Linked DNA regions of Homo sapiens: regions 2 and 3 are each linked to region 1. The links are contacts of gene promoters, found by promoter capture Hi-C in human tissues and cell types (Jung and others, 2019). All regions are on one chromosome and are shown on one strand. Each heading gives the region's core, a stretch centred on a gene start or on the middle of the fragment in contact. The rest is flanking DNA. Distances are from core to core; before and after follow the strand shown.

Region 1 (5,061 bases), core at 838-3,337:
ACGGCTGAAATGCCAGCACTTTGGGAGGCCAAGACGGGTGGATCACCTGAGGCCAGGAGTTCCAGATCAGCCTGGTTAACATGGTGAAACCCCGTCTCCACTAAAAATACAAAAAGTAGCCGGGTACGGTGGAGTGGGCCTGTAATCCCAACTACTCAAGAGGCTGAGGCAGGAGAATCGCTTGAATCCATGAGGTGGAGGTTGCAGTTAGCTGAGATTGCACCACTGCACTCCAGCCTGGGCAACAGAGCGAGATCCTGCCTCAAAACAAAACAAAACAAAAACAGCCGGGCGCAGTGGCTCACGCCTGTAATCCCAACACTTTGGGAGGCCAAAGCCAGCAGATCACGAGGTCAGGAGTTCAAGACCAGCCTGGCCAACATGGCGAAACCCCGTCTCTACTAAAAACACAAAAATTAGTCGGGCGTGGTGGCAGATACCTGTAATCCCAGCTACTCGCGGGGGGGGCTGAGGCAGAAGAATCGCTTGAAACTGGAAGGTGGAGGTTGCGGTGAGCCGAGATGGCGCCATTGCACTCCAGCCTGGGCAACAAGAGCGAAACTCCATCTCAAAAAAAAAAAAAAGACACAAAATAATTATAAATAATTAAGTTATGATTATGTCAAATGCTACACAGCAGTATAGAATGTTATTAGAATACTGCGTGCTGCACATTTGGTAATTATTATTATTTTTTGAGACACAGTCTTGCTCTGTTGCCCAGGCTGTAGTGCAGGGGCGTGATCTCAGCTCACTGCAACCTCCTCCTCCCAGGTTCAAGCGATTCTCCTGCCTCAGGCACCTGAGTAGCTGGGATTACAAGGGCGCGCCACTACACCTGGCTAATTTTTGTATTTTTAGTAGAGACGGGGTTTCACCATGTTGGCCAGGCTGGTCTCGAATTCCTGACTTCAGGTGATCCACCTGCCTCTGCCTCCCAGTGTTGGGACTGCAGGCGTGAGCCACCGCGCCCGGCCTTCATAATTCTTTTTAACTGAAATTGGGTAAATAAGTAGACTGTAGACTCCTGCCCTATTTTCAAAACTGCAGAAGCATTGCTAGCGTCTTATTAAAATTAAATCACTTCTCGGTAACAAGAATTGGACCGGGCACACAACAGATGTCATACCTTAGAATGAGTACCAAGCTCTTTTTCATCTTTAAGAGAATCTGTGTATTACAAATAAACATTTCCATAAACCAATATTTGACCACGGCAAGTGTGTAATACTTTCTGGATCACACCCATTTTCACATGCTGTCGGCTAATCAAAAACAAAAATCCCCATTTTGGGTATGGCTTTATTTTCTAAAGCGGGCGTTACGGGGGTAAGAATTAACAGAGACTTCCTCCTCCATGTCAAGCATGAAGCGTGGTGCTTTGAAACCTGCAACCTGACTTGCTGTGCACAACGCAAGAGAAAGTTACGATCTAACCTATTATAAGCGTCACATCAGGAAACAGGTTTCTCTCGACGAAACTAAAAATAGCAACTCCGCCCACTCGTTCTCAACCCCTTTAGCCCGCTTTGTTTTTCTCCAGAGCACTCATCCGTCACTAGTATTTTTATTGAATATTCAATGACCCTTTCCTTCCTCCCAGGCCTCCAGGCCGTAAGCATCGAGAGAGCCTGAGTCCCCGCGACCGCGTATGGCAGCGTCGGAGTCAATCCGCTGGAACGCCTGCCACAAGATGAAAAACAGCCAAGAGGAGCAAGGAACAAAAAAGACTGGTTCCGATCCCGGTGAGGGTCACTTCCAAGATCGGCCTGGCATTACCTGGTACTGGGACAGGGCGGGCTCTTCGCCGCCGCCGCTGGGGCCCCGAAGGCGAACGACTAAGAAGGAGCTGTCTTCTCCGTCCCACAGGAAAAGCTCTCCGCCGAGGCCAAAGACCACGTTTCTCGTCAGCAACTGCGGCGGCGGCGACGAAGGCAACGACGAAGAAGCTGGTTTCTCAGCTTCGGTTGGACTCTGGTTTTTCAGTCCCTCCCGGAGCCGCAAGAACACGACGTGGTTAGGAAGCCAGGTCTGCCACAGCTCGCCGTCGCCCACCGGTCCCTCGGCGGCCGCCATCTTGGCCCAACTGCTCCCCTCACTCCAGTTGCTCAGCCCGCCGCTGAGCACAGCCAATCCGCGGCCGTCCACTCACTGTTTCGGCCAATCACCGAGCAGACGGCCCGGAAGCTCGAGAGGCTCGTGCCAGGTCGGGGGGCGAAGGCGAGGCCAGCCCACCAAGCAGGGGCGTCACCAAGGGAAAGCCAATCACCATTATTTCTGAAGCCCAAGGGGGCGGGACGAGAAGTCAACATAATGGTGGTGCTGCTGGAAATCTAGCACCTGGGGAGAGCCTGAGACTTGTGTATCTAATTGCCTATTGGACACCTCCATCTGGGTAAACCCAGGCATCCAGAACTTTCCCTCAAGACTTACCTCCCTCAGTGCAGGTCGGGCTGGCCTCACGCATTTCGCTTGGATGCCTAAATCTGTCTCCACGTGGGGCCGGTCGATAAAACAACACTTCCCAGAATACGCTGCGATCCATTCGCGGTCTGCACCCGGAAAGTACACCTCCCAGGGGTCTGTGCGCGCCTCCAGGGAACGGGTCTTGTGGCTTTGTCTCCCGCGAAGAGGAGATGGCGGAGTCGTTGAGGTCTCCGCGCCGCTCCCTGTACAAACTGGTGGGCTCGCCGCCTTGGAAAGAGGCTTTCCGGCAGGTGGGTATGGGGTTTGTGCAGTGGTCTACCCTAGATCGTCCCGGTGACCGCCGTCTTCCCTGCCTTCGCCTTAGCCCTGCTCCGTGGAGCAGGTGCCGCAGCGCGCCTGGTCTGGTCAAACCCAGGCCTGCTGACTGTAGAGTGTGGGATTAGCCCGGGTCGGTCAAGTCCTAGAAAGCCTTGTTTTTGGATTCGATTTTGTTTTGAATTTAAATTGTGGTCAGGACATCACCGTTTGCACCTCTGCAATAACACTACCTACTGTTGCTGCGGAGGTGGCCACCGAGAGAGGCACTTTGTCTACGTTCGTCTTGTGAGATAGAGATGATTTCTATTCTAGAGAGTAGTAAAATGAGGCTTAGAAGAGGGCTCCACCTCAGTTCTGGCCTCTTCTGAACACAGTGTGGTTATTAGTAAGTAATGTCCAAGAAAGTAACCCGACGCAAGAAAGATAGCAGATACAGCAGAGTTTCTCAGCCTTGACAATGGACATTTTGAGGGAGATATTTATATGTTGTGGAGGGTTGTTTAAGCCACGTCTCGGGCCTCCACCCACTAGATGCTAATAGTCCTATAACTAGAATTGTGACAACCAGAAATGTCTCCAAGCATTGCCAAATGTTCCTTGGGGGACAAAACCTCCCTGAGTTCAGAAACGCTGCTGTGCAGGAAGGCCGTTACCCAGCCATATCTAGAGTAGCAAGAATTTGGAAGGAATATAAATGTTCTGTAATAGGACATTGGATGCTGAGATATTATGCACACAACCATTAAGGAAACTGGCAAGCTAGAATAAAAAATATGGTTCTTTGTAAATACGTGTACAAAGCATTGTAATTTTATGTATCTCTACAGAGGAATATGCAAAAGTAACACTAGTTAGTATTATCATTGAAATTTTGTGTCTATAAACTTTCTTTAATGTTTTCTCAACTAATGTAAGAGTGTTTTTTAAAAATAGAAATGCTTTTTTTTTCCCCCCCAATCTTGCTCTTTTTTCCCAGAGATGCCTGGAGAGAATGAGAAACAGCCGGGACAGGCTCCTAAACAGGTACCGCCAGGCTGGAAGCAGTGGGCCAGGGAATTCTCAGAACAGCTTTCTAGTTCAAGAGGTGATGGAAGAAGAGTGGAATGCTTTGCAGTCAGTGGAGAATTGTCCAGAAGACTTGGCTCAGGTCAGGCTGGGCTATGTGTTTTCAGGGAGGGGGACTGCACCACCAAGAACGGCTCGTGTCCTCTTTTATTTGTTTACTTGAGTCCTCTAAACCCACCATTCCCCTAACCCCATTTAGAATTCAACAGCCTTTAACCCAGGCTTTTCTACACTTAATGTTAGACTTGTCTAGATGAAATGGTCTGAAATACCAGACCGTAGACCTGCTCATCACTGCAACATCATCATTTATGAAACTAAAAAGAAAGAAATTTCATTTCTTGCCTCCACCCTTGGAAATTATGATTCAGTAGGCATAGGCTAGGAATCTCTTTCTCTCCCTCTCTCTCGCTCTTTTTTTTTTTCTGTCTTGCTCTGTCGCCCAGGCTGGAGTGCAGTGGCAAGATCTCGGCTCACTGCAACCTCCACCTCCTGGGTTCAAACGATTCTCCTGTCTCAGCCTCCCAAGTAGCTGGGATTACAGATGTGTGCCACCATGCCCGGCTAATTTTGTTTCTGTTTTAGCAGGGATGGGGTTTCACCATGTTGGCCAGGCTGGTCTTGAACGCCTGACCTCTAGTGATCTGCCCACGTCAGGAATCTCTTTCTAAAAAGGTCTCCAGAAACTTTCCGATTCTAATCTCAGCCAACGTTGGCAGCCATGTGTGGAAGGGAAAACCATTTATAGTGTATCAGGAAGAACACTGGATTCGAAGTCAGGAGTTCCAGAATTCAAATCCTGGTTTGGCTATTGACTGTTAACTTCAGTTTGCCTCTTTGAGGTTTAGTTTTCACATTTATAAAATGAGAAGATAATGTTTTCAGCATTGTAAGGACTGTGTAAGAAAATGTGGGCAACTGTTTGAAACCATCAACACCCTGTGTAATAATGATGCATTATTCAGTGGCTTTTGTGTGTCCTGCAGTACACCAATGTTTGCCTTATATCACCACAACTAGTACTCACAGTAACCCTCTTAGATAGATTTTATTCCCACTTTACAGAGGCCAAAACTGAGATTTGCAGAGATTAGGAACTTTTCATGTGGTTACGTAGCCTTGGAAGAATATGTACCTAACTGCTACCCTATATCGTCTCTCCAAAATTGGGTACCATTATTTTGTCACTGGATAGTTGGATCATTTGTTGATGGCTTGTCAGCATGACAGCATTACCCCACTGTCAGCATA
Region 2 (5,061 bases), core at 1,269-3,768, 1.2 Mb after region 1:
TGAGCCTGCCTGAAGGCACCAGTAAGCGCGGGGCTGGGGGTGTCAGGAGGCCTCTGGGGTGCGAGAGAAGCTGGGGGGATGCGCGTGTGGAGAAGAGGGCGCAGGATGGGGGTGCTGGAACCTGGAGCGCAGGGCTCTTTGGGAGTGTCGAAGGGGCTGTGGCTGCAGCTGGCACAAAGTGGCTGGAGCCTGGGGGAGGGGCGTGATGCTGAAGAGGCAGGGGTCACACAGAAGGACGGAGTGATGAGGCTCTCCTGGCAGGGGCGAGAAGAGGCGCTCACCAAAAGTCACTGGCCAAGCCCTCCTCTGGCCTTCTAGGCCGTACTGTGGGCGACGACCCTCGAGGCCTGTTCCAGAAACACCAGGAAGAGGAGCTGGAAGAGAGAAGGAAGTTGTACCGGTGAGCCCTCCTCCCCTGACCCCACGTGAGCTGCTGATGCTTCCAGCACCCACGCCTGATTTCCTTCCTGCCCTACAGGTGGGGAAACTTGAAGGATGGGTTAATTCTGAATGTGGCTGGGGCAAAACTATGTGACCTCCCTGTGGATGAGCAATTTCTGGAAGACAAGAGTGTTGACTTTAAGGTTTCGCTGGCCAAAGGGTGAGAGCAAGGGGAGGCTGGGTGAGAGGGAGGTGTCCTGGTCTAGTGGAAGCCAAGGGGCTTATGGGCTGCACTGCACTGCACTGGACCGGCTCAAGGTCGGTGCCTGTGGCTGTCATGTTGGAGTCTCAGAATGATGCTCAAACCCTTTGCCCCATTCTGTCCTGAAGGCTGGCCGACCTCACTATCAAAAACTAAATGTTCTGACGCTGGGCATGGTGGCTCACGCCTATAATCCCAGCACTTTGGGAGACTGAGGCGGGCAGATCACGAGGTCAAGAGATCGAGACCATCCTGGCCAATATGGTGAAACCCTGTCTCTACTAAAAATACAAAAATTAGCTGGGCGTGGTGGCACGCGCCTGTAGTCCCAGTTACTTGGGTGGCTAAGGCACAAGAATTGCTTGAACCCAGGAGGTGGAGGTTGCAATGAGCCAAGATTGCACCACTGCACTCCAGCCTGGTGACAGAGTGAGACTCCATCTCAAAAATAAAATAATGTTCCGACTTGCTAGAATGATCTGAATGACTTCAACCAGATTTTCTGCTGTGGCCAGAGCAAGCTGGCTGGTCAGTCCCCCACCCCAATATGTCTCCCAGGACGCTTACCCCCAGATCCCACCCAACCCAGGGGAATTGAAAGAAGCAGGGTGGGGAGACCAGAGACTTGGGTCCCTCTGGTGGGCTGGAGTCAAGGGGGCATGGTTGGTGGGGTTGGAAGGACCAAGAGCTCAGATCCCACAACTTGCTCAACAACTGCCTTCCCCAGAGCGCGTGCGGGACTCCTGGAAGGAAGATGCCTTATTTGGGTACCAGTTTCTTAATGGCGCCAACCCCGTGGTGCTGAGGCGCTCTGCTCACCTTCCTGCTCGCCTAGTGTTCCCTCCAGGCATGGAGGAACTGCAGGCCCAGCTGGAGAAGGAGCTGGAGGTATGGACATCAGAGCCCTGAGGAAGCTCAGCAGTGAAGTGGGGTGGCCTAGTGCCAATGATGCTGCTGCGGGACCCACTGTGGGCCTGGCTTGCTGCCAGCCAGCAAGGACGGATTCTGCAGGAGAGGTCCTGAGGGACCCTGGAGAAGCTCAGCTGCTCGGCCTCCTTCCCACACGAGAGTAGCTGTGGAGGGAGGGCGTGCAAGATGGAATGGTTGATAGAAACAGGGTCAAATGAAGAAATGTGACTGGCCCCTGGTGCTAGGGATTCGGGGAGTGTGCAGAGTAAGAGAGTCAGGATCAGAGTGCTGTGGCTGTTCATCAGGAGGCGATATGGAACAACAGAGAGGAAATTCATGGGATTAAGGGCAGATAGGCTTGGATGTGAATCCTGGTTCTGCTATTTGTAAGCTGTGTGACCTCAGGCAAAATACCCAGCCTCTCTGATTATCTGTTTCCTCTTCTGTGCAACTGAGGCTCGTTCAACTAGGTATAAAAATTATAAGGCTGGGCACAGTGGCTTGCACCTGTAATTCCAGCACTTTGGGAGGTCGAGGCAGGAGGATCACCTGAGCCCAATAGTTGGAGACCAGCCTAGGCAACGTGGTGAAACCCTGCCTCTACAAAAATACAAAAATTAGCACCTGTAACTTTTGGTGTAGTGGCATGCACCTGTAGTCCCAGCTATTTGGGAGGCTGAGGTGGGAGGATCACCTGGGCCCAAGGAAGTCAAGGCTGCAGTGAGCCATGGTGGTCCCGCCATGGCACTCCAGCCTGGGCAACAGAGTAATACCCTGGCTCAAAAAATAAACAATGATATGAGGCAATAAGCACATGATCCATTACCTGGTACAAAGTAGGTGATGGAGACAAGTTAGCTTCTCTCTCTCTCTCTCTCTCTCTCTCTCTCTCTCTCTCCTCTCTCTCTCTCTCTTCCCCCTTGGAGGAATCCGAGTGGGAAGAAGATGCTTTATGTTGATAGCAGCCTTTGACCTCTTCCTGCACCCAGGGAGGCACATTGTTCGAAGCTGACTTCTCCCTGCTGGATGGGATCAAGGCCAACGTCAGTCTCTGTAGCCAGCAGCACCTGGCTGCCCCTCTGGTCATGCTGAAACTGCAGCCTGATGGGAAACTCTTGCCCATGGTCATCCAGGTGAGAGGACTCAGGATTTCTGCTCCCAGTCTCCAGCCTTCTCAGCTCAGCCCCTTATCGAAATGCACTAAGCACCATCTTCAAAGGCGCTGGGCTAAGGCACCAGGGAGACGCGAAAGGAGGAAATGCGCCAAGTCTCTATTCGAAGGCCTTGCAATGTAGCTGGAGAGACACATAGGGCTAGTCTGCAGAAGCTCCGGGACTGAGGAAGTCCCGGAGGACAGAGACAGCCCAGGAGGGATCGGGGAGTTGGGATGTCACCAGCCTTGGAGGAGGGCCAGGTCTCAGACAAGCAGGAGGGAGAGGAAGGACCAGTCCTCAGGGGCAAGACAGACTGGGCAGAGGCTAAGGTAGAGGAGTCAGGAGATTCCTAGGGGACAGTTGGACTGGGGCCAGACTAAGCCAGGCTAAGGAGCATGAAGTGGGAAGCTGGAGAAGGCTGTGATGAAACATGCTATAGGCACGCGGTGTGGGCAGTGGTGTTTAGGGTGGGTTGGAGAGGGGAGATGCTAGAAACAGGGACTGGGGCAACATGCCCCAGCACTGACCCCAGGAGGAGGGGAGCTCGGATATGGGTAGTGACCGTCGGGATGGAGAGGACCGGTGGATGCGAGTGCAGAGGGAGATGAAGGAGAGGGGAAAGGGGAGCCAGGCCAGGTGCCTGCAGAAATAGCACCAATAAAGAGAACAGGGTGCCCAGGTAGACTTTTGTCTGGCCAATGTTGAGGTAACGGGAAGACATTTAAATTGTCCAGCAGGCAGCTGAGAACAAGAGATTCAGTCATTTGTGTAGAGGTGGGGCCAAAAGATGAGATTTCGAAAAACAGTGTGGGATGGAGGAAGCAGGTGGTTTGAATCTTGTCCACAATGCGGGGACTGAAAGGGGAAGTGGAGGCTGGAGGAGGCACCAGAAGAGCAGTTTCTGCAGAATGCTGGAGGCAAAGCAGCTTGCAGGGTGCTAATGCACTGAGCTGGTAGGAAGGGGAGGGGAGGAAATGGGAGCTGTAGGGAGAGGCAGGAGTGGGATGGGGAAAGCAGAACAGGTTTGGAGGACGAGGTTAACATGCAAGGGGGGCGGGAATCGCTGAGTGCCGGGCACTCATGCCTTCTCTCCCCACACTTGTCCCTGCTCCAGCTCCAGCTGCCCAGCACAGGATCCCCACCACCTCCCCTTTTCCTGCCCACGGATCCCCCAGTGGTCTGGCTTCTGGCCCAATGCTGGGTGCGCAGCTCTGACTTCCAGCTCCGTGAGCTGCAGTCTCATCTTCTGAGGGGACACTTGATGGCTCAGGTCATTGTTGTGGCCACCATGAGGTGCCTGCCGTCGATACATCCTATCTTCAAGGTAACACCTTATCCCCTTCTCTCCTGTATTCAGCTGAATACTTGATGGGGACCTTTGTTTCTCTAGAGTTCTCTTTCTGTACAACACCCTCAATTTCAGCATGCTGCCCTGTGAATTCTGGCTGTATTGGCCTCCCAGTACTGCCAGCTCTCTCTGTCCCCTTAACTCAGGAAGATGATAGGACTCTGCCAGGGTTGCTCCTCCCTACTCTGCAGCTGGAAAGCTTTCTCCAGGCAGTAAGCTGGGGCAATTGTGGGGCCCACTTGTGTCTGTTTCTTCAGTTATTTCAGGCAAGAGGGTAAATCCAGTTCCTTACTTCACTCCAGCTGGAGGTCTCCTCCTCATTATTTTATATACGTTTTGTGGAAGATTAACTTTACAATTTAGTTTTTAGGTAACAGAATATTCAGACAGGACTGCGACTCCATTCATGGAGTAATTATCGTAGCTCAGAGATGAATATTATTACTCTCTCCCAGAGACGGATGCAGTGACTTTTGGGACTTTGTGTGTCTCTTTTCTCAAGGAGAGACTAATAGCATCTTTATTTCTATGAAGAATAGTTGCATTGTGTTAGATAGAAAAGAATATTTTATTTTATTTTATTTTATTTTATTTTATTTTATTTTATTTTATTTTATTTTATTTTATTTTTGAGACAGTCTCACTCTGTCAGCCAGGCTGGAGTGCAGTGGCACAACCTTGGCTCACTGCAACCTCTGTCTCCCAGGCTCAAGCAATTGTCCTACCTCAGCCTCCCAAGTAGTTGGGATTACAGGCGTGTGCTACCATGTCTTGAACTCCTGACCTCAGGTAATCTGCCTGCCTCAGCCTCCCAAAGTGCTGGGATTACAGGTGTGAGCCACCACGCCTGGCCCATTTTTTCTTTTGAGTATGGAAGTTTAAATATAAATGCTGATTAACCAATAGAACTGACTGTGGGAGTTAGGCTTCGCCCTTGGCTCCAACCCTCTACCTTCTAAAGTCAGCTTCCTGTCTAAGGCTAGGTCTCTGCAAACCATATTCCTGCC
Region 3 (5,061 bases), core at 988-3,487, 1.1 Mb after region 1:
CAAAAAAAAAAAAAAAAAAAAAGGAGAGAAGGGACATTTACAAAATGCAGAGGAGCCTGGGAGAGCTGAGCTGAGAAGGGAGAGGTAACCAGACTCCTTGGGATGACTGCTGAGTGTGGGGGGCAGGAGCCCAGGCACTGGATCTACAGACACGGGGAATCTGTGTTGCCTCGAGGGAAAGGGCCAAGCGTGAAATTGCAGCAGAAAAAAACCAAAATGTTAGAACAGCACAAGGCATTGATGCTCAGAGCAGGGCAGTTTTTCCACCTGTCACTGGAACAAATTCCCACAGACTCTCAGCCCAGGGACCAAAGGACCCACAGGCTAAGGCAGAGGGACTGAGACTGGCACCCCCATTTGGTAAGGGGGTGACCTATCAGGGCAGTGACAGAGAGAGTCCTTCGAGTCCAATAGACCTGGCTGTGAGTCCAGGCTCTGCCCAGACCCTCTAAGCCACCTTGAGGCTGCTATTTCTCTGAGTATCTGTTTCTAGATGTTTTAAAAGTGGGAGAGTCGCATTTCCTCCCTCCCAGGATCACGGTACAGTAAAGAGCTTAGCACTCTGCCTAATACATAGAACAAGCAGCAAATGTTCACTGCCGTTGCGATGACAGTGCCCTGGCAGGTGACCTGTGCTCAAGGCGTCCCAGTGCACACACACACTCACACACACACAGGGTAGGGCAGCAGATGGGACACACGCCCTGCCACAGGCCATTTTAAGGAGTCGGGGTGGGTGAGGACCCAGGCACGGTGGAGGAAAGAGGGAGGCAAGAAGCCTTTTTCAGCTTCCTTGGTGTCATCTCACAGTGCCTCCCTCAGGAGGGGAAAAGGGAGGGGAGTGAGAAGGCTGTTTAGCTGTGTTCCATACTGGCTGTGCCTCACACAACCGGCCCCACCCCGACAGGACTCCTTGGGGACAGAACGGGAGTGCATTCTCAGGCACCTAAATCTTACAGGCTCAGTGCCTGCACAGGGAGACGGGTCCGCAGCCCAGGGTCCCGGGCAGCTTTCGGGCTTGGGGGTGGATTGACACACAGCCCGATGGTATTCACACCCATTCCTTCACTGTCGCGCCCGGTCCTGGGGGACGGCATGGCACCAGCCAACGTCACGGGTTGGGTGTGAGTTCATGGTAGATTCTCACACGCCAGCCTCACAAGAGGCACTGCCGAGACCAGGCTTGCTGCCGCCTACTGTATGGCCGGCCCTGTGGGCACAGCTGTCCTCCACCCGCCTCCCAAGGCACCATCGGGCCCAGAATGTGCCCGATGAGTCACGGGCCTGGGTCTCCCCAGCATGGGCGCAGCAGGGGGGCTGAGTCCGCCTGAGCCCCGGTGCCCAGCTCAGGGTCTGGCACAGAGCAGATGCTAGTGAATGAACGTCGGGCTGGATGAATGAACGAATGACTAATGCCCGCTCCCTCAAACCACAGGCTACACCGTCTGAGCCTGGGGGAGGGCAGAGCCCACGGGACCCCAGAAGAGGCCTCCGCAGCTGAGGCTTTGCGTCCCAGGGTCGATGGGGGAGGGGGCGGGGCGGCCAGCAGCCGGCGCGGCACGGGGCTCCCCTCCTTCCCGAGAAGGAATCTGGGTCTCTGGACTGAGCTGGTGACGGGGGCTGGGGCGGGGGGTTGTGGCGTCCTGGATGGAGAGAGCTGCAGGAGCAGGGGGCGCGTCCCGGTTTGCGTTGGGGTGTGGGACGAAGCGGCGGCCGCGGGACATCCCCTTCGGTGGCGAAGCCCGGGTCTGCCCGGGGCCTCCGCGGGGTGCAGAGGGCTCCCAACGGCGGGACTGGCCCGGGGCGCCGCAGACCTGGCCCTTTCCGGCGGGGCCGTGGAGAAGGGGACGCGGTGTCCCCCGAGGTGACCGGGGGCGCAGGAAGGACGGGGGGCGCGCGGAGCCCCCTCTCCACGCGCGGGAGGTCCAGCCCCGCTACCGCCCCCTACGCCCTCCCGGGACCTCCGCCCACCTGCGCGAGGGGTTCACCTGGGCCGGCGGCCCCTCCTCTAGACGCGCGAGTCCCTCCCCCGGGCCCCGGCCCTGCCCTCCCCGCGCCCGCCCTCACCTGCACGGCCCGCCTTGGCCATGTCCCGGGCGGCGGGCTCCGGCGGCGCTACGCGCGCTCCTCGCGCTTCCCGGGCCCGGCCCCGACCGCCTCCGGCCCCGAACGGACTCCGAGCGCCGCGCCCGCGCCCCCGCCCCGCTCGCCTCGGCTGCCGCCACCGCAGCCGCCGCCGCCTCGCCGCTCCCTCCCGCTCCCTTAAAGGCGCCGAGCGGCGGCCGCGCCCCCCCCCCACCCCACCCCCCGCGCCGCCGGGGAGGGACTGACGAAGGAAGGCGCCCAACGCCGCCCCCGCGGGCCCGCACCCCCGCCCCGGGCCGTGGCCGCCGCGCTCCAGCCCGCTCCGCTCCGGCCCGCGCGGCCACCGCAGCGCGCGAGGGGCGGCAGCCCAGGGGCTCAGAGACGCGGAGACAGCCCGAGACACTGCGGGCCAGAGACGGGGCCCTGGACTGGGAGAGGGGCGCACAGACTATTAGACAGCGCTGGAGAGAGACGCTCCTAGGGCCAGAACGCCGAGGTGGAGGGAGAGAGAGAGAAATTCAGAGGAGACCAGAGACCCAGAGCCCGGCTCCGGCTCCGGGAGAGACGGACAGAGGGAGCGGAGAGAGGAAGGAGGACAGGGATCCAAGGGAGGCCCCCACGAAGTCAAGAGGAAAGTCGCTCTGGGATCAGAGACAAGAGAGGGACCCCCTCCATCAGCCCCCGCTCCAGGGGTTCTGGATCATTTATGGCGTCTGACCTAACCTCAAAAGAGAAAGGATTCCCGTGATTTTAACCCTCAAGGGATAAGTAAAACACTTGCACATCCACCTGGGGTTCTAGGCTGGAGCAGGCTTTGTGGACCCCAGCGGCCTGGTGGTGAGCAGTACCCGCCTTCCACTTCCTAAATCGGGATGCAGAGATTCTAGTGGACAGGCCTTGTGGTCCGGGGAGATATGGGTTATGACTTCTGTTTAGGGGCAGCAGGGATCCACAGTCCAGCCCCAAAAGAGAGCAGGAGATGGCCAATTGTATTTGGCGGTGCCTGAGAGGTAACAACCCTCCACTGAGAGGGTGCCCTGCCTCCCCCAGGAATTGGTAAGGCTGAAGCCCAGTTACCATCTGTAGAGCCAGGCACCCAACCCACCCTGTCCCACTCCACTTAACAGGGAAAAGGTCAACTGGAGAATTCCATCCATGGTCCAGGCTCCAGGGTCCTGCAAGCTCCTCTATGGAAACAGGGCACACATGGGGTTAGATGGGGGCTCTCAGTCCAGTGCCTTCTCTGGGGCTTTGACTCCATTCACAAGATTCCTGCTAAGCAGTCCTCCAGCTCCTGGTTGGTTACCTCCAAGGACAGGAAGCTCAGTATCTTAAGTGAGAGTTCTTCCTTTTATTAATTTTTTTTTTTTTTTTTTGGCTAGTGCTGGCCTTAAGAATGTTCTTACTCGTTTGAGCTGAAATCTACAACCCGCATGTCCCATCCATGAGTTCTGCTCTGCCTTCCGACACCTCACCCAACAAAACCAGGGCTTCCCAAGGCCTTCTACCCAAACTCCCTAGTATGGATTCACCCAGGGAGAACAACCATCCACGTTTGCCAGAGCTCACCTCCCAGGAAACCCATGAGTCCCAAGAGCTCTGGATCCCAGAGCCAGATGACAGCACCAACTCCAACAGATGTAGAATTTCAGAAGCTCTGGGCTCCTGAATCCAACGCTGTTCACCAGCACCTGCCATTGGTCACCAGCTGGGAGAGCAGGAATGGACCCTGCAGCCTTTCCCCACTATGAGAATGGGACTGGGGATGAGAATAACAAGGACTATTGATTGAACAGGCGGTATTTACCCTCATGTACTCTCTCAGCTACATTGCGTTATCCTCAGCATACACATAACGAAGTGGGGGCTAAGAAAGTTCGGTGCTTGTGGTCATGGAGGATCAATTTCAGGCCCCTGTGCTTTGTCTACTGGGCCTCACTGGCCTCACCCTTCCCTGAGGTGTTTCAGAGGCCTGATAGCCTGGACAATGTCCAGGCTTGGCCACCTGGTCTGTAGGTGTGAGTGGTCACGCAGGAGACAGAACGCTGGCTGCAGAAGAAGCAATGCGCCTGCCACAGAGGGGACACGCCTGGGCCTGAGCTCCTCCCCAGCCCTGGCTCACAGTAGCAGCAGTGACCAGAGGGCATCAAGGGCCCTCCTGCTTCTGGGCACAGCTTCACGTTGTGTTTGTGTGTGTGCCTGGGTATGTGTGCATGGGGTGTATGTGTGTGTGCTTGTGTGTGCTTAGGGATGCATGCATGGGTGTGTGTAGGCACACTCGTACACACAAACACAGGCAAACACCTGCTGACAGATGCTCCCTGGGTGGGCACCCAGACCCCTTCCCCTCCCACCACTTAGTCCTCACAAACCCTAAACTAGTCACCCAGAAGGGCCTGGGTGGAGCGGTTAAGGGGAGGTGCCAAGTTGATGGGAGTTTCAGAACTCATCTCTCCAGACCACTCCACACCCCATTTCTCAGATGGGAAGACAGTAAGCCAGATCTGTCCCCTGAAAACCACGACTCAGAGGCCCAGATCCATGGTTCCCCTCTTTAAACCTTCACCCCAGCCTCTGTCCGCCCCTAAGGCAGCCCCTGAAGGCACTGACTGTTACCAGCTGCCAAGGAAGTTCCAGCCCAGCCTTCTGACAGAGCAAACACATCAAAACTCAAGGCCATTAGATTAACTGGTGGGAGTTAACTTCCTGCGTCAGAAGAATTGTCCTTAATTGAAGAAAGGGATAACTAGCAATTTAGCCACGCTGACCTCTGCTGCCCGGAGGAAAGAGAGGCAGGAGCCAGCCAGGGCCTACGGGGCCTCCCAGTTACCAGAGTTACTGTGCCAGTAACTCTCCCAGTTACCAGAGTTACTGTGCCAGGAGACCAGATCAAATCCCTTCTCTGAGACCTGGCACCCAGGCCCTTTCCTCTGACCACAGCTTGTTCTGCTCCTGCCTTCACAGTGGCCAGCTGCT

The links. The method cuts DNA at HindIII sites, captures the fragments that hold promoters and counts their contacts. A contact is called where the count stands out against the background at its distance.
Region 2: a fragment that was not itself captured here is called in contact with the fragment with the promoter of NUP88 in region 1 in 1 of the 25 tissues and cell types used here (dorsolateral prefrontal cortex).
Region 3: a contact is called between the fragment with the promoter of PITPNM3 here and the fragment with the promoter of NUP88 in region 1, in 1 of the 25 tissues and cell types used here (bladder).

Annotation. Positions count from the first base shown.
Region 1 is chr17:5,417,575-5,422,635 of GRCh38, forward strand. NUP88 (nucleoporin 88) reads right to left here and starts at 2,088. Exons shown (of 17, transcript NM_002532.6): 1 at 1,780-2,088. The coding sequence starts at 2,076. RPAIN (RPA interacting protein) reads left to right here and starts at 2,608. Exons shown (of 7, transcript NM_001033002.4): 1 at 2,608-2,717; 2 at 3,722-3,892. The coding sequence starts at 2,637. RefSeq lists enhancers at 1,450-2,089, 1,725-2,262, 2,263-2,800, 2,530-2,649, 2,660-2,879. The HindIII fragment of the contact is 11,956 bases long and covers 1-5,061 here.
Region 2 is chr17:6,657,384-6,662,444 of GRCh38, forward strand. It overlaps the pseudogene ALOX15P1. Among named protein-coding and RNA genes, the nearest start is that of MIR4520-1, 4.4 kb to the left of the region's middle. RefSeq lists enhancers at 1-210, 1-34. The HindIII fragment of the contact is 8,121 bases long and covers 1-5,061 here.
Region 3 is chr17:6,554,318-6,559,378 of GRCh38, forward strand. It overlaps PITPNM3 (PITPNM family member 3), which reads right to left and starts at 2,238. Exons shown (of 20, transcript NM_031220.4): 1 at 2,068-2,238. The coding sequence starts at 2,089. RefSeq lists an enhancer at 503-1,149. The HindIII fragment of the contact is 12,560 bases long and covers 1-5,061 here.